2 separate regions of the Homo sapiens genome follow, and region 1 is linked to region 2. Evidence: promoter capture Hi-C in human tissues and cell types (Jung and others, 2019). All regions are on one chromosome and are shown on one strand. Each heading gives the region's core, a stretch centred on a gene start or on the middle of the fragment in contact. The rest is flanking DNA. Distances are from core to core; before and after follow the strand shown. Region 1 overlaps EYA4 (EYA transcriptional coactivator and phosphatase 4). Region 2 holds the start of EYA4 (EYA transcriptional coactivator and phosphatase 4).

What was found. Contacts are between HindIII fragments. The study calls those that stand out against the background at their distance.
Region 1: a contact is called between a fragment that was not itself captured here and the fragment with the promoter of EYA4 in region 2, in 1 of the 25 tissues and cell types used here (thymus).

What each region holds. Positions count from the first base shown.
Region 1 is chr6:133,506,091-133,512,464 of GRCh38, forward strand. EYA4 (EYA transcriptional coactivator and phosphatase 4) reads left to right here. Exons shown (of 20, transcript NM_004100.5): 14 at 16-105. TARID (TCF21 antisense RNA inducing promoter demethylation) reads right to left here. Exons shown (of 9, transcript NR_109982.1): 7 at 1,154-1,231; 8 at 1-180. It also overlaps the pseudogene HSPE1P21. Among named protein-coding and RNA genes, the nearest start is that of EYA4-AS2, 53 kb to the left of the region's middle. RefSeq lists an enhancer at 1-260. The HindIII fragment of the contact is 8,455 bases long and covers 1-6,374 here.
Region 2 is chr6:133,236,459-133,242,962 of GRCh38, forward strand. It overlaps EYA4 (EYA transcriptional coactivator and phosphatase 4), which reads left to right and starts at 4,899. Exons shown (of 20, transcript NM_004100.5): 1 at 4,899-5,291. It overlaps LOC124901231 (serine/arginine repetitive matrix protein 1-like), which reads right to left. Exons shown (of 3, transcript XM_047419612.1): 2 at 5,761-5,953; 3 at 3,862-5,198. The coding sequence ends at 4,328. RefSeq lists enhancers at 5,242-6,136, 6,137-6,504. The HindIII fragment of the contact is 6,618 bases long and covers 1,948-6,504 here.

The DNA of each region.
Region 1 (6,374 bases), core at 2,455-4,954, 270 kb after region 2:
ACATTTTCTTTACAGGATCCCCCCATGGCTGTAACCCTTGGACTCCGCATGGAAGAAATGATTTTTAATCTTGCTGATACTCATTTGTTTTTTAATGATTTAGAGGTAAGAATTTTACAAGGTACAAATAGTTGTATCCAACACCAGACCTCCTAGATGGTTTCTGTATCTGTAGATAACCTCGAGAAAACAGAAAGATAAAAATTCAGCTCAAGAGAAGCATAAAGTTCTTGTCAAGAGGAAAAATTGTATATACAAATATAAGCAGAAAGTTAATTTGTGTTCATGAATAATACATATGTAGAACAAAAATGTCTCTGAAGAGGAGATTGTTGGCTTTGCTGTCCTTACTGTCCACAGCTGTACATGACTCTTGGTTCTTTTAGTGTTTCAGCATTAGCTCTTCCAGATTATTAACCCGGAACCTATCTAGGTTAATCACTAAACGATATTCACAGACACTATTCATGGTGATAGCGTGGATCAATTAATTTTGTGGATAATCTGAAACTTAACTTTAGCTAACATTATCATTCCCCGTTTCTTTCCCTTCTGGATAAAACAGTGCTAGAACTATTTAAGCACATTTGATGCATTTAAATGCATTTATTTTCTCATTTTAAAAATTATGTTTCTATTTTCAACCTCAAATGGCAAGACAGTGTCTAAATGGCAAATAAGAGGAATAGAAAATAAAAATCAACAGCAAAATGAAACGACCCAAGGAAAAATAGCCTCAGAGTAGTTGAATGTGTACTGCAATAAAGTATGCCATCTGTGTGCTAATGACCTAGGTTATTAGACATTCAGATAATAGAATTCGAAATAACTAAATAGTTCAGGTTCTTGGCAGAAGTACTTCTCAGTCAAGCATAACTATGCTGAAATAGAGATTTCTCTTTCATTTTTTTTCAGATGGCATGTTTAAATTTATTTTTTATCTCATAGTTTCATAATTAAAGTTTTTATCTATAGTCATATTATGAATTGAGAGGGAGATTACTACTACTGAACCCCTACCTTGTTCTAGATATTTTATGTTGGACTTTCCATTAATTACTTAACAATGTATTGAAGTAAATGTGTTTATCACATTATTTATGCAAGGGAGAAACTGTATGGTCCACAACATACAAATCACATCTAAAGTTACCTGCTATCTAAATGGCAGAACTGGAATTTGAAGCAGATTTGCGTGGCTCCAGAGCACATACTTCTGACCCATCCTTTGCTGAAAATTTTACAAGTGTGTGAGAAAGAAAAGCCAAGTTATTGAGTTACTTAAATAACTTTTTTTTTTAATGCTCTAAGTTCTGGAGTACATGCGCAGAACGTGCAGGTTTGTTACATAGATATACACATGCTGTGGTGGTTTGCTGCACCCATCAACCCGTCATCTACATTAGGTATTTCTCCTAATGTTATCCCTCTCCTAGCCCTCCACCCCATCACAGGCCCCAGTGTGTGGTGTTCCCCTCCCTGTGTCCATGTGTTCTCATTATTCAACTCCCACTTATGAGTGAGAACATGCATTGTTTGGTTTTCTGTTCTTATGTTAGTTTGCTGAGAATGACGATTTCCAGCTTCATACATGTCCCTGCAAAGGACATGAACTCATCATTTTTTATGGCTGCATAGTATTCTATGGTGTATATGTGCCACATTTTCTTTATCCAGTCTATCATTGATGGGCATTTGGGTTGGTTCCAAGTCTTTGCTATTGAACATTGCTGCAGTAAAAATACATGTGCATGTGTCTTTATAGTAGAATGATTAATAATCCTTTGGGTATATACCCAGTAGTGGAATTGCTGGGTCAAATGGTATTTCTAGTTCTAGATGCTTGAGGAGTTGCCACACTGTCTTCCACAATGGTTGAACTAATTTACACTCCCACCAACACGCCAGTTAGAAAGTTTTTTTTTTTAAATGACAAGGTCTTAAATCCAGTTTGAGTTATATTTGAGACATGAGAGTAAAAATGAGTGGTTCAGTACATTCCATAAATGTGTGTGCTGAAATCTGTGTAATAGCATTTTGCTGTTGTTGTTGTTGTTTTTCTCTATGGTGAGTCATGTTTTTACTGAATAATACAATTACTGTCTGTTTAAAGCGGCATTCTTTTTTTTCTACAGTGGACAGTATGAAAGCTCATATTACTAGGCAAGCTTTCAGTTTTAGATAACAAATAATAATCACCTCTCTAAAACCTGATTTAAATTGATCCTGCTACTTATGAATACAGAATGATTTTATATATATATATCTGGTAATAACAAACACCTTAACCTTTCCACAACTTGAATTTTTTACATACAGCGATAACTTTTGGGGTTAGTTTTTCTGTTGATCAGTATGGATGAGTTGCATTGTAAAGAGGATCTTAATATTATTAGTCTTTTCAAAGGTATAAAAAGAAAAAAGAAATTTTATGTGGTAGTATCCAAGTAAAAGTGCTTATTTCATTTGGTTAATTATTTTTTACTGGAAATAAGTGGAATAAATGAACTTTTAGCTTTTGTAGTGGCACATTAGAAGCCAGATGGAATAAATTTGCTACCCAACTTTTAAAAGAACACTGCAGTGAGAAGGTGAAAGTAGCATATAATGAATTTGTAACTAACTAGCAAGTTTGAAATGAATATTGGTATATCAAAAACATGTTGTAGTCATGTATGGCACTTAAAGACATTTATTTTAGTTCAGGTACTATGTTATATGTATTTCAAAAATACCTGGCAGGATCTTTGGTAGAAGTAGTTCATGAGAAAATACTGGTATTGACTTTCTCTTCTCTGAGTATATAGCTTTTTAGTTGTGTTTTAGAATGTGATAAGAATTTCATTTGACTCAAACCCTAGAACTTAGCTATTCAACAATACTGTACTTAATCAATAAAATAATTGAGTTTCTGCAGATAAATTGAACTCTCACTGTATATGCGTGCCACACAAATGCTTGCACATCCAGATAAAGTGCCCAAGGAAACATAAATGATTTTTACTGACTTGAGTAAACAAGCACTAAAACCAATAGAATCAAAACAGTAGCTTTCAAAAGCATTCAGTACAGTTACATACATAGCGCCCTATCCTTCTGCATCTGACTTTGAAAGGCAGTTTTACTTTCACACAACTTTTTATTTCAATAAACCTCTTACAGCCAAAAATTGTCTTGGGCTCCATAACTGGAATTAAATGATTTCTACTCTTGTTGACAAAAAGAATTCCTCAAGAGAGTAACTCTAACATTAGCTTATTATGTTGTCATTGTTGATGTTGAATATTTAAGCTCTCAGGGTGCTTTTCTTAAAAAAAAAAAAAAAACCGAACCATCTAATTTGACACTCCATTCTTTCAGTAGATACTGCAACATATATAGTAGCAGCTGTTCCTCACATAATTCCTTAAAAGATACAAATTTAAATCCTCCTAATAGACACTTCACTGCATCCTGCCCAACTGCAGAGAAGGCAGATGCCCAAACTACCCTCCCCCAACAGAAGAGAATCCTGTGTGTTTAAATAAAGTGCTATTTCGGTTAGAATAACCTCCAGAAAAGAAGTCTCAGGAAGTTTGAGATGGCAAAGGTGAGAAAAGACTGCTGTGAATTATAACTGATAAATATCAGTGACCACTTTTTGGTCACTTTGTGAGACAAAATTAAAGTATTTAAAGTTAGTTCTAGAATATTTTCAAATGTTTGAGTTTTATTAAAATTTGTTAAAGCCAAAACATTACAGTGTTTTTAGTATTTCACTTTTTGGTCAAAATGATTCTTACAAAGTTTCTCAGAGTGAAAAATAATTGAAGGACAATTATTTAGCTTTTTCTAAAAATGTAAATAATGGAAGTTCAGGTTTCTTTCACTGGACCGTAATCCTCAGGCAACCGTCCAGAGTCAACAGGCATAGTTAACTAGGCATAAATTTAAAGAAAAGTTAAATTTGGAAAAACCTCAAATATAACCTCAATTATGGAGCTTATGGTCCAATAAGTGTGATATACTGTTGTCCTCAGGAGTAAAAGATAAGTTTTTGGGCAACCTATGTACAAATTAATCATGCGAGTTAATATTTAATGTCAGAGGAATTTCTCTAAAAATTACAATGAGAGGATATTAAATAGAGAAATAACTTCTGATTACCAGGGAAATTTACAAGGATTCCTCCACTTTTTTGAATGTCATTAATTTATTATAAAAGAGAAACACAGAAGTTATTTACATGTGGAAAGATTTCAGAGCTTCAATGGAATGGGCAACTTCATGTGACACCATTTCAATAGTGATTTATTTCAGTCTACGGACTTTCCAAGTATGTCACCATCTCTAAATAAGAAATAATCTCATCATTTAGAACTACTTTGGTGCCTCCATATTCTGGGAGAAAAACTTTATTTCCAACCCTTATGCTAATGGGTAAAATCTCTCCACTCTTTTCCTTAAAGCCCAGTCCAGCAGTTACTATCATTGCTTGCAATGCCTTTACTGGATGTTTTTCAGGAAGCATAATGCCTCCTTTGGTTACAGTTTGGACTGCACTCCTTTCAGCCAATACTTGGTCAAAGAGGGGAAGACATTTTCTAAATACCTGTCCGGCCAGGCCATTCCTTGGGCAGTCTCTGCACTCTTCTCTCTCCCTTCCTTCCACTCTTGACATAAATATCTTCTTACTCTCCTCACCATTTAGAATGCTTTTATTTTATATCATCGTAACCTTGTGTTAGAAAATTTAAATGATTGTGGTAATCCTGTAAAGAATTAGCATTTGTCTAGACTTCTCCCATTTATTTAAGAAAGAATTGTGGAGTGATTATTCTATGCTAGATTGTGCCGTAAGTGGGGATGTAACCTGGTGAACCAAATGCCGCACTCCAGGGCACTTCCAGTCAGATTAAATTTGGGGACCCATACGTGTAGGTGGAGATTTATTCAAAACTTACTAACCCTGTAATTTCTGTAAATTATATGAACTTTTAACTTACCTGGATTTTCAAGTTACATACTCAGAAGGTACTGATTGGGCTAGTCACTGAGTTTTGTATATTAAAGGAAGCCTGAGTCAACTATACCTTTAAACTGGAACCGGATTAAACACTTTCTGTGTGGAAATCTGGAGACTAGGTATGAAATATTTGACTGCCAGATACTTTCAAGCCCAATAATGAATATAAATAGTAGCTTTCAAAAAACCTTTGTTTAGTATGGTGTATTTTCAAATTTAATGATTTTTTTTAAAAATTAATTTTGAATGCTAAGCACTATGTATATAGTCAGAAGCTGTAAGTATGAGTAAAATACTTTGAGGGGGACTAAGGAGGCCCAAGATGCTAAACCATACTTACTCTGAGGTTAATATGATGTAGTTATTTATTATAAATAATTTATTTTTATTTATTATATATTTATTATTCTGAGAACTAGGCATTTTAAATGCCCTCACCAAATTTCACCTTTAGATCTTGTAATATTGCGCTGGAACTTTGCAGATTATTTGAAGATGGACTAAGACTCAGAACAGCAAAGAAGGATCAAATCCTTATCCACATAAGTTACCATTTGTTCTGAGCACACAGTAACTTACAATCAGGTCAACTGTGGCCGGGCGTGGTGGCTCACACCTGTAATCCCAGCACTTTGGGAGGCCGAAACAGGCGGATCACAAGGTCAGGAGATCGAGACCATCCTGGCTAACACAGTAAAACATCATCTCTAGTAAAAATACAAAAAACACAAAAAAATTAGCCAGGCGTGGTGGCGGGCGCCTGTAGTCCCAGCTACTCGGGAGGCTGAGGCAGGAGAATGGCGTGAACCCAGGAGGCAGAGCTTGCAGTGAGCCGAGATCGCGCCACTGCACTCCAACCTGGGCGACTAAGTGAGATTCCATATAAAAAAAAAAAAAATCAGGTCAATTGTGTGGGTATACTTACATAAAGTTTATTTTGCTTGGAATTTTGTAGCACATTTGAGATGATAAATCGTCATTATTTCCCTTTTACTTAAAAGTAGTCTTTTTGATTTGAAAATTTAAAAACTTGACAAAAAGAAAATGTCAATATCTATGATCATTACCCTTTTTCTGTGTCAAAAGACTAGGACCTTGAAATAACACCAGCATGGTTCTTTCATGGTTCTGGTCCAGCAGGAAGTCATGGAAATTCCACAGGACACCATAATCTGAAGGCAAGCCCCTCTGTTGCCACTCAACAAATGATAAATAATAGTAACCATCTGAGGTGTTCAGACTAAGTTTTGTGTATCTTCAGATTAGCCATGCTTAAGTATGCACAACAGAAATGGCCTGGAAGGGAACTCAAATGCTTATGAAGATTCAAGAGAATTTCTTATCAATAATTTTAAGATTAAAATTTTTA
Region 2 (6,504 bases), core at 3,649-6,148:
AGCAGTCTCAGTAAAGGAATAGGAGCAGAAGTAATATTTCTAGGATTAAGAAGAGTCACAAAGTGGATGCACTGAGGGCTGGTCACTTTTTTTGAGAAAGTGGAATAAAGGAATCAGGTGACTATATGCTAATGAATTCAAAGGAACAAGAAAGTAATATTGTTCATATTTTGACTATTATTAATATTTTAAAATGTTCATTCAAAGTACTTGGGAGATTGATTAGTATGCCAAGAAAAATATTGTGTGAAGTGAAAATAGAAAAAGAAATTACATGTAAGTTGTTAGAATATGAAAATAGCATATGTTGGTAGGAATTCAAAGTGAGGCAAAAATATAATGCAACCGAAGAAAATAAATTCGGACTCATTCTAATATGTTAATGAGACCACACCTGGAACAATGCATTCAATGTGGGATACCTCTAACAAAAATGAACATCTAGGAAATTGGAAATAGTTCAGAGACAAGCAATAAGAATGATTATGGGTTTGTAAAGACTGAACTGCCACAAGATTAAAAGGCCTTCTATTTGTTTAACGTGGCTAACATGACTTAAAAGTGAGCATGATATCTGTTTATAAACATCTGAGGGCTGAGTGTAAGCATGGAAGAAGGAGTAGAGTTGCCTAATATGCTACTAAAATGATTCAACTGGAGAGAATTTTCAAGAGAAAATCTAAAAGTAAATATAATGAAGCTGTCTCCCAGAAAATGTGCATTTCCTTTCTTTCAGAGGCCCTGCCAAGAATGAGGAAATTTAGCAGGTCCCCTGAAGATTTGATTTCTTCACTTTCACAAACTAGTAGAAACCTTTTTAAGCTTGATCTGTCTGCACAAAATTACTCAGAAAGTGTGTTTATTTATAGATTTTAGAAAACCGGCAGCATAGGACTCTAGATTCTTGGGCAATCATATTTTATCTTCATTTATTCCTGTGGTCTGTCATCAGCAGAGAGGTAGATTAAAAGACTGTTCAACCTTGTTCACATTAAGGTTGGTCTTTAAAACTCCATACTTCCAAAGCTCAAATAGTTTGGCTTAGAATTTACTAAGAAACAACTGAATTATTGTATTTTTGAAAAATTGTGTATATTTCCAGCTAGAGTTCATAGATATACCAAAAGTTGCTCAAGAGATTTACTTTGGGATTATTTCTACAAGCATCCAGTTCTCTGCATTCTTTTTCAATAAATGTAGTGTCTTATAGCATTTTTTAGCCTAAAATCTGTTCTTACTAAAGTGAGGGCCTGGTTTTTCCCTTAAGGTTGCTTTTAAATGAAATTAAAACAAAAATTATGTTTTGGATTATGAGCTCCTAGAGCGCTTTGTTTAATTTGACTTATACAAAATCTAATGCCAAGACAGTGCCATGCACGTTTGAAAAATAAACAAATAGTAAATGGTAACTGCAGAGGCATCCCATTCCAGAGGAGTTGGTTAAGGGAATTGCTAATAAGTGAATCTTATATTTCCACTGATTTACCCTATAAAGTCTTATATTTTTTATCTCCCCACTCCTCCCAAAACACATCCCTTTTCAGACTGAGTTGAACATGTACAAATATTCTGAGAGCCTGACTCATGTCATGCAGGGCCCACTGGTGTTTTTGAATCACTTCAAGAATCTGGCAGCAGGTCTCTGACTTCAATTTCCCCCATGTGTCTTTCTAGGCCCTTTGCGTTTCTCCCACTGTTCTACTTTCCCTCTCTTCTTCATTGTCTGTACTGTATTGCACTACTGGGCTAATAGATGCTAGGGAAGGGTAATGAGTAACCGGTACAATATTTCAGGAAAGTGATTTGCTTTTTAATTGTGCATTTATGAATTGTTTGCATTTTACCACAAATAAGATAGTAAGTAAAACAATAAATAATACATGAATTTTAAAAAGACGCCTCAACTTCAGAGACTTCAAGTATATTTTAGACAAGAAAAGCAATAATTAAATAAGCACAGAATTTAAAAAGTAATACCTCAAAGTAAATTGGACACAACATTTTGTTCCGGTTATGAAAAGGGGAGGCTTGAAAATATCTCTTGGTGAGCCTGAGGGACATATGGAATGTAATTCTTTAAACCAATGTTTCTCAAACTGTATGTGAGATAATTTTAGGTGGTACATGAGAAATAACTTTTATTTCTACAATATAGGTTCCTTTGCAAGATCATCTTCTATTCATGGCGGGTTTTATTAGTTTTCCATTTATGGTGACTATAAAAAATGTCCTTTATCAGATAAACTTATTTAATAAAAATAGATTATTTAAAGATACATATTAAGTCAATAATATAGGCGATATGGCTATAATTATAAAAGTGATATTCAATGTAAATGCTGGAAATAAGGCCTCATTTAAGCAAACAATACATTTTTGCCTTTATAACCCTAAAATTCTGTTTCCTATGTTAAACTTATTTCAAATGTGTACTGAAAATTGACGTTTTATCTGACACCTAGTGGTGTCCATGTTAATATATGTATATTTAAGACAACTATTAGAAGGTAGTAATATGAAGTCAAATAACTAATATATTATCCTGGATTTTAAAAATAATTTCTGTACATGTATTCTTATCTAGATGTACAAAAAACTATGCAGGAGCAAAGTGACCTTGAAAGCAAGGTCAGTGTAACTGAAAAATCTGACTTTAGAAGGGTACAAAGAAACATGCTAAGAAAACCCACCCTATATTTATGTTAACAATATGCTAAAGTATGAATTTTTATTTTATTCAAATCATACATCTCCCACCTTTATTTGTAGGTGAAACTAGCACATAATGTTTTATGCCAAAATGAAATTCAAAATGTTGTTGCCTTTTGAGGACAGTATTAAATTCATCATTGTACTTAATCCTTACATGATATTTGCTATAGCCACAGAACATTCTTAGACACTATGATTCACAAAACATTTAAATTGCATATTTGGCTTGTAATATATTACATATTTAAAAGAATTACTATTTTTCTGAATACCATTAATACTAATAATAGCATCACAGTGACTAAGAGTGGACTTAAATAAAGGCTGGCTTGAAACTCAGGTCTGCCATTTATTAGCAAGCTTCTAAAAATTCTGAGCCCTTAGTTTTCTCACATGTGAAATGGAGAAAATAAATCTGCAAAATTAATTAAATCTGTCCATTCATATTTTTCTCTCCAGTGTATATTAACTGGCATTCCTCGTTAGGCCAGAATGTGCTCTCAACCATGCTCCAAATCCGCTTTGTGCCAACCCCACTGCCAGAACCCTTTCTACCTTGAGAACCAGAAAAGGAAACATTATGCCTGGCAATGCCTACACCCTCCAAAATAAATCTGCAGGAAAGAACACCCAGTAAGTGATGAGAGCAGCAACGACTGCCTTTATCATTTTAAATTTACAACACCACCTTTTCTAGAGCCTCTTAAGCATTGTAGATAATTCCCCACTCATTAAAAAATAAATTGTAACCATAAGTATTCAGGGTTGATACTGCTTTTGAATTAGACAGTGCTCATATCAGTTGCATAAGACCAACCTAAAGTAGAGGATGAAATCTTTTTTCTGAACCTTTTTCAGAACGTAACTTAGTGAATATATTAAAACTAAACTTTCTTTGAATGGGAGTAATTTCTACGGATTAATCTGTAATCTCTTAGACCACACCTAAGGTAATGTAGAGGTTGTTGTATCATAGGCTTTGTGATTAGAGACCACTGGATTTGTCTTTGGAAAAGTCACTCATGATTCTTTGGGCTTTGGTTTCCTCATCTTTTATACCGGCTTAATAATGACCACCGTAGAGTTGTCATGGAAGTTAAATGAACTCATGTACCATAAGTGACCAATACAATGATTGACACTCAGTGATTTATCAATAAATTAAAACATTTATTATCAATATGACAGAGAAGGTGCCGCTAAAATAGACAATAGGTTTTTGGAAGAGGTGATTAAATGGATGCAAAATTTATGGATTGTTTATTCCGTCTACCTTTGCTGTGTCCCCTGGTTGTGGCATACACACGTGTGGGTATAAAATCGTAAATCCTATGTAGTCGCGTAGTGCATGCGCAGAAGGCTTAGACACGAAATGTCATTTCAGCAATGTGCCTAGAGAAGCTCTGACGCCGCCTTGGAAGTAAGTCGTTGCTGCCTGACCTTTGGGCGTCTGGGACGGATGCCTATACCTGCACCCAGCAGCACTGGAAGGGGCCCAGGCCCTTCGCAGCACAGCCTATCCCCAGACCGCTTAGTCCTTCATAACATATATCTCCACGGAAAAGGGTATTTCCTCCCGTCAGAAAAAGCGCCCCAGTCTGGTCTGGGTTGGTTTTTATTTCACGTTGTTGCAAGTAGGCGAAGTCCCTTCTGTCTCCTCCCTTGGGGTAAGTGGAAAGGAGTCCGGCAGGGGGCCCGCAGTGGCCTGCACAGGGGAACTGGGTAGCGAGAGAGTTCCAGGCAATTCCGGGGGCTGCCCCACAGAAGCAGGTGGGGATCGACAGTGGCTCTCCGGCCCAGGGAGGAGAGCGCGGTCGCGGGTCCCTCCCCTCAGCCTGGAGGCTGCAGCCGCTCGAGTCGGCCCGGGTGGGGGCGGGGTGGGGGCGGCGCGGAGGGCACGGAGATTACGGCGGCGCCACCCGGGACATCCAGGGCCCCGAGGCCCTGGGCGGTCCCCACGCGAGATCGCAAACCATGACAATAGGCAGTCACCCGAGGTCAAATAAAAACGGAGTGGGTCCCCCGCGCGCCGCCGCCCCCCGCGTCCCTGGCGGCCTCCCCCGAGGCCCCCGGCGGCCTCACGAGCCCGCAGTAGCCGGTGGCGACGTCGCCCCCGCCCCACCTCCCTGCGCAAGTGCGAGGCTGCCGGCAGCGCGGCGCACGCTCCGGCCGTTCCCGGCTTCCGCGCAAAACTTCCATCCTGTCCACGTGAAGTTGTCGCTGCCTTAGAGAGGGGGAAAGAGCTGCGGGAAAAGCCGGGGAGTGACGACTGCGGCGGCTGGGCGCGCTCTCTCATTTTCTTTTCTTCTCCTTTCCCCCCTGTCGCAGTCCGGAGTTTTGGCTCCTCTCCTTTCCTCCTCCCCCTCGGAGCCGGCTTCTCCCTCCGCCCCGCTTCTCCCCCGCTTGTGTACGCTATTTGTTGTGGGGTGGCCGAAGGGGATGTCCTGTTTTCACCAGAGGCACAGCGCGAAGGGGAAACTTCGACACTGGAAGGAACGAGAATAAATACTTAATTACGGACGCACTGAACCGCGGCTGGGACAGACACTTCGGGAACCCGAGGCGGACCGGGCGACGAGGTGAGTGACCCCTTCTTCCAACCCCCGCCCCAGGGCTCCCGGGGGAGCCTGAGTTGAGAGAACCCCCAAACTTTCCGGGAAAGTGCGCGAGGCTCCGCCGGGGACGCCGAGCGCTGGGTACTGAGGACGCGCAGCTGGACGGTGCGTGGGCGCCTGCGTCCCCGGGGGGCGCTTGGAGGCCGGGTGCCCCACGCCTGAGGGCCCGGGCCGCTCGGACCGCAGCGGTGCTCTCTGCCCTAGAAGACGTCCCCAAGCCCCAAGGGTCCCTTCCGAGCCTGCCTGTCCCTTCCGGGGTCGGCGCGGAGCCTGCGCGTAACGGAGTTCATCCAGCAGTCCAGCGCGCGGCTTCTACCTGCACCCCGCCTCCACCTGGCAGAGGCGCGAGCATCGGGGTCTCCCCCACATCTTTCTTATGACGTGTATTACTTTCTGATGACCCCCTAGATGGTCCAGGCGCGAGGATGCTGACCCAGAGTCCTTCGGAGGGTCACAGGCGCCTGGGCTTTCCCGGTGCCGGGTGCGTGTGTACTTTAAAGGCTCGCGTTCTAATCTCCAGGCACTGATCGGGCTTTTCAACTGCGGCGATCCCACTTTAATAGTTTTTATGTGGCGTGGACTGAATGTCTCCTGCAGTTTGCCAGGGTCGGTGAAATTAGAGGCGCCTTGTCAGAGCAGTCGCGTTCATTGGCTCGAGTAGCGGGTGCCATGGAAGGCTTATAACTTCTCCAAAGGAAGGGACCTGGCTGGGTAGAGCAGGTTTTTCTCTCCTTCCAAGCCTGCTGGGTCTGGGGAGGCAGTGGAACTTGAAATGGCTCGGATTTTTAGCGTGGTGAAGCGAGGTTTGGAAGTAGACGTGTGTGTGCTTGTTTTATTCTGCGCCGCACAGCAACCCGAACTTTCGTTTGGTAGCACTTGAAAGAGTTTTCTCCCTTTGTTTGCGAGATTCTGAACAGCTCGGAGCGATTAGGGAATTTGCGGACCGAGTCCGGTGGCAGAGCTGGGGCGAAAGCAGAGAGCGCAATTTAATTTTTGTCATCTCTTCCCTGCTTGGGAGGATAGTGTTTCCCTTCACCACCACCCCTCTTTCTCCTTCCTATGAAGACAACGGATTTGCGCCTGGGGTGAGAGTGTGTGCGGGAGAGTGGTGTGGAGACTGTCCTCTCTCACCGCGTCTCCTGCGCCTCTCCCCGCCATCCCGAGCGGGCCTAGAGAG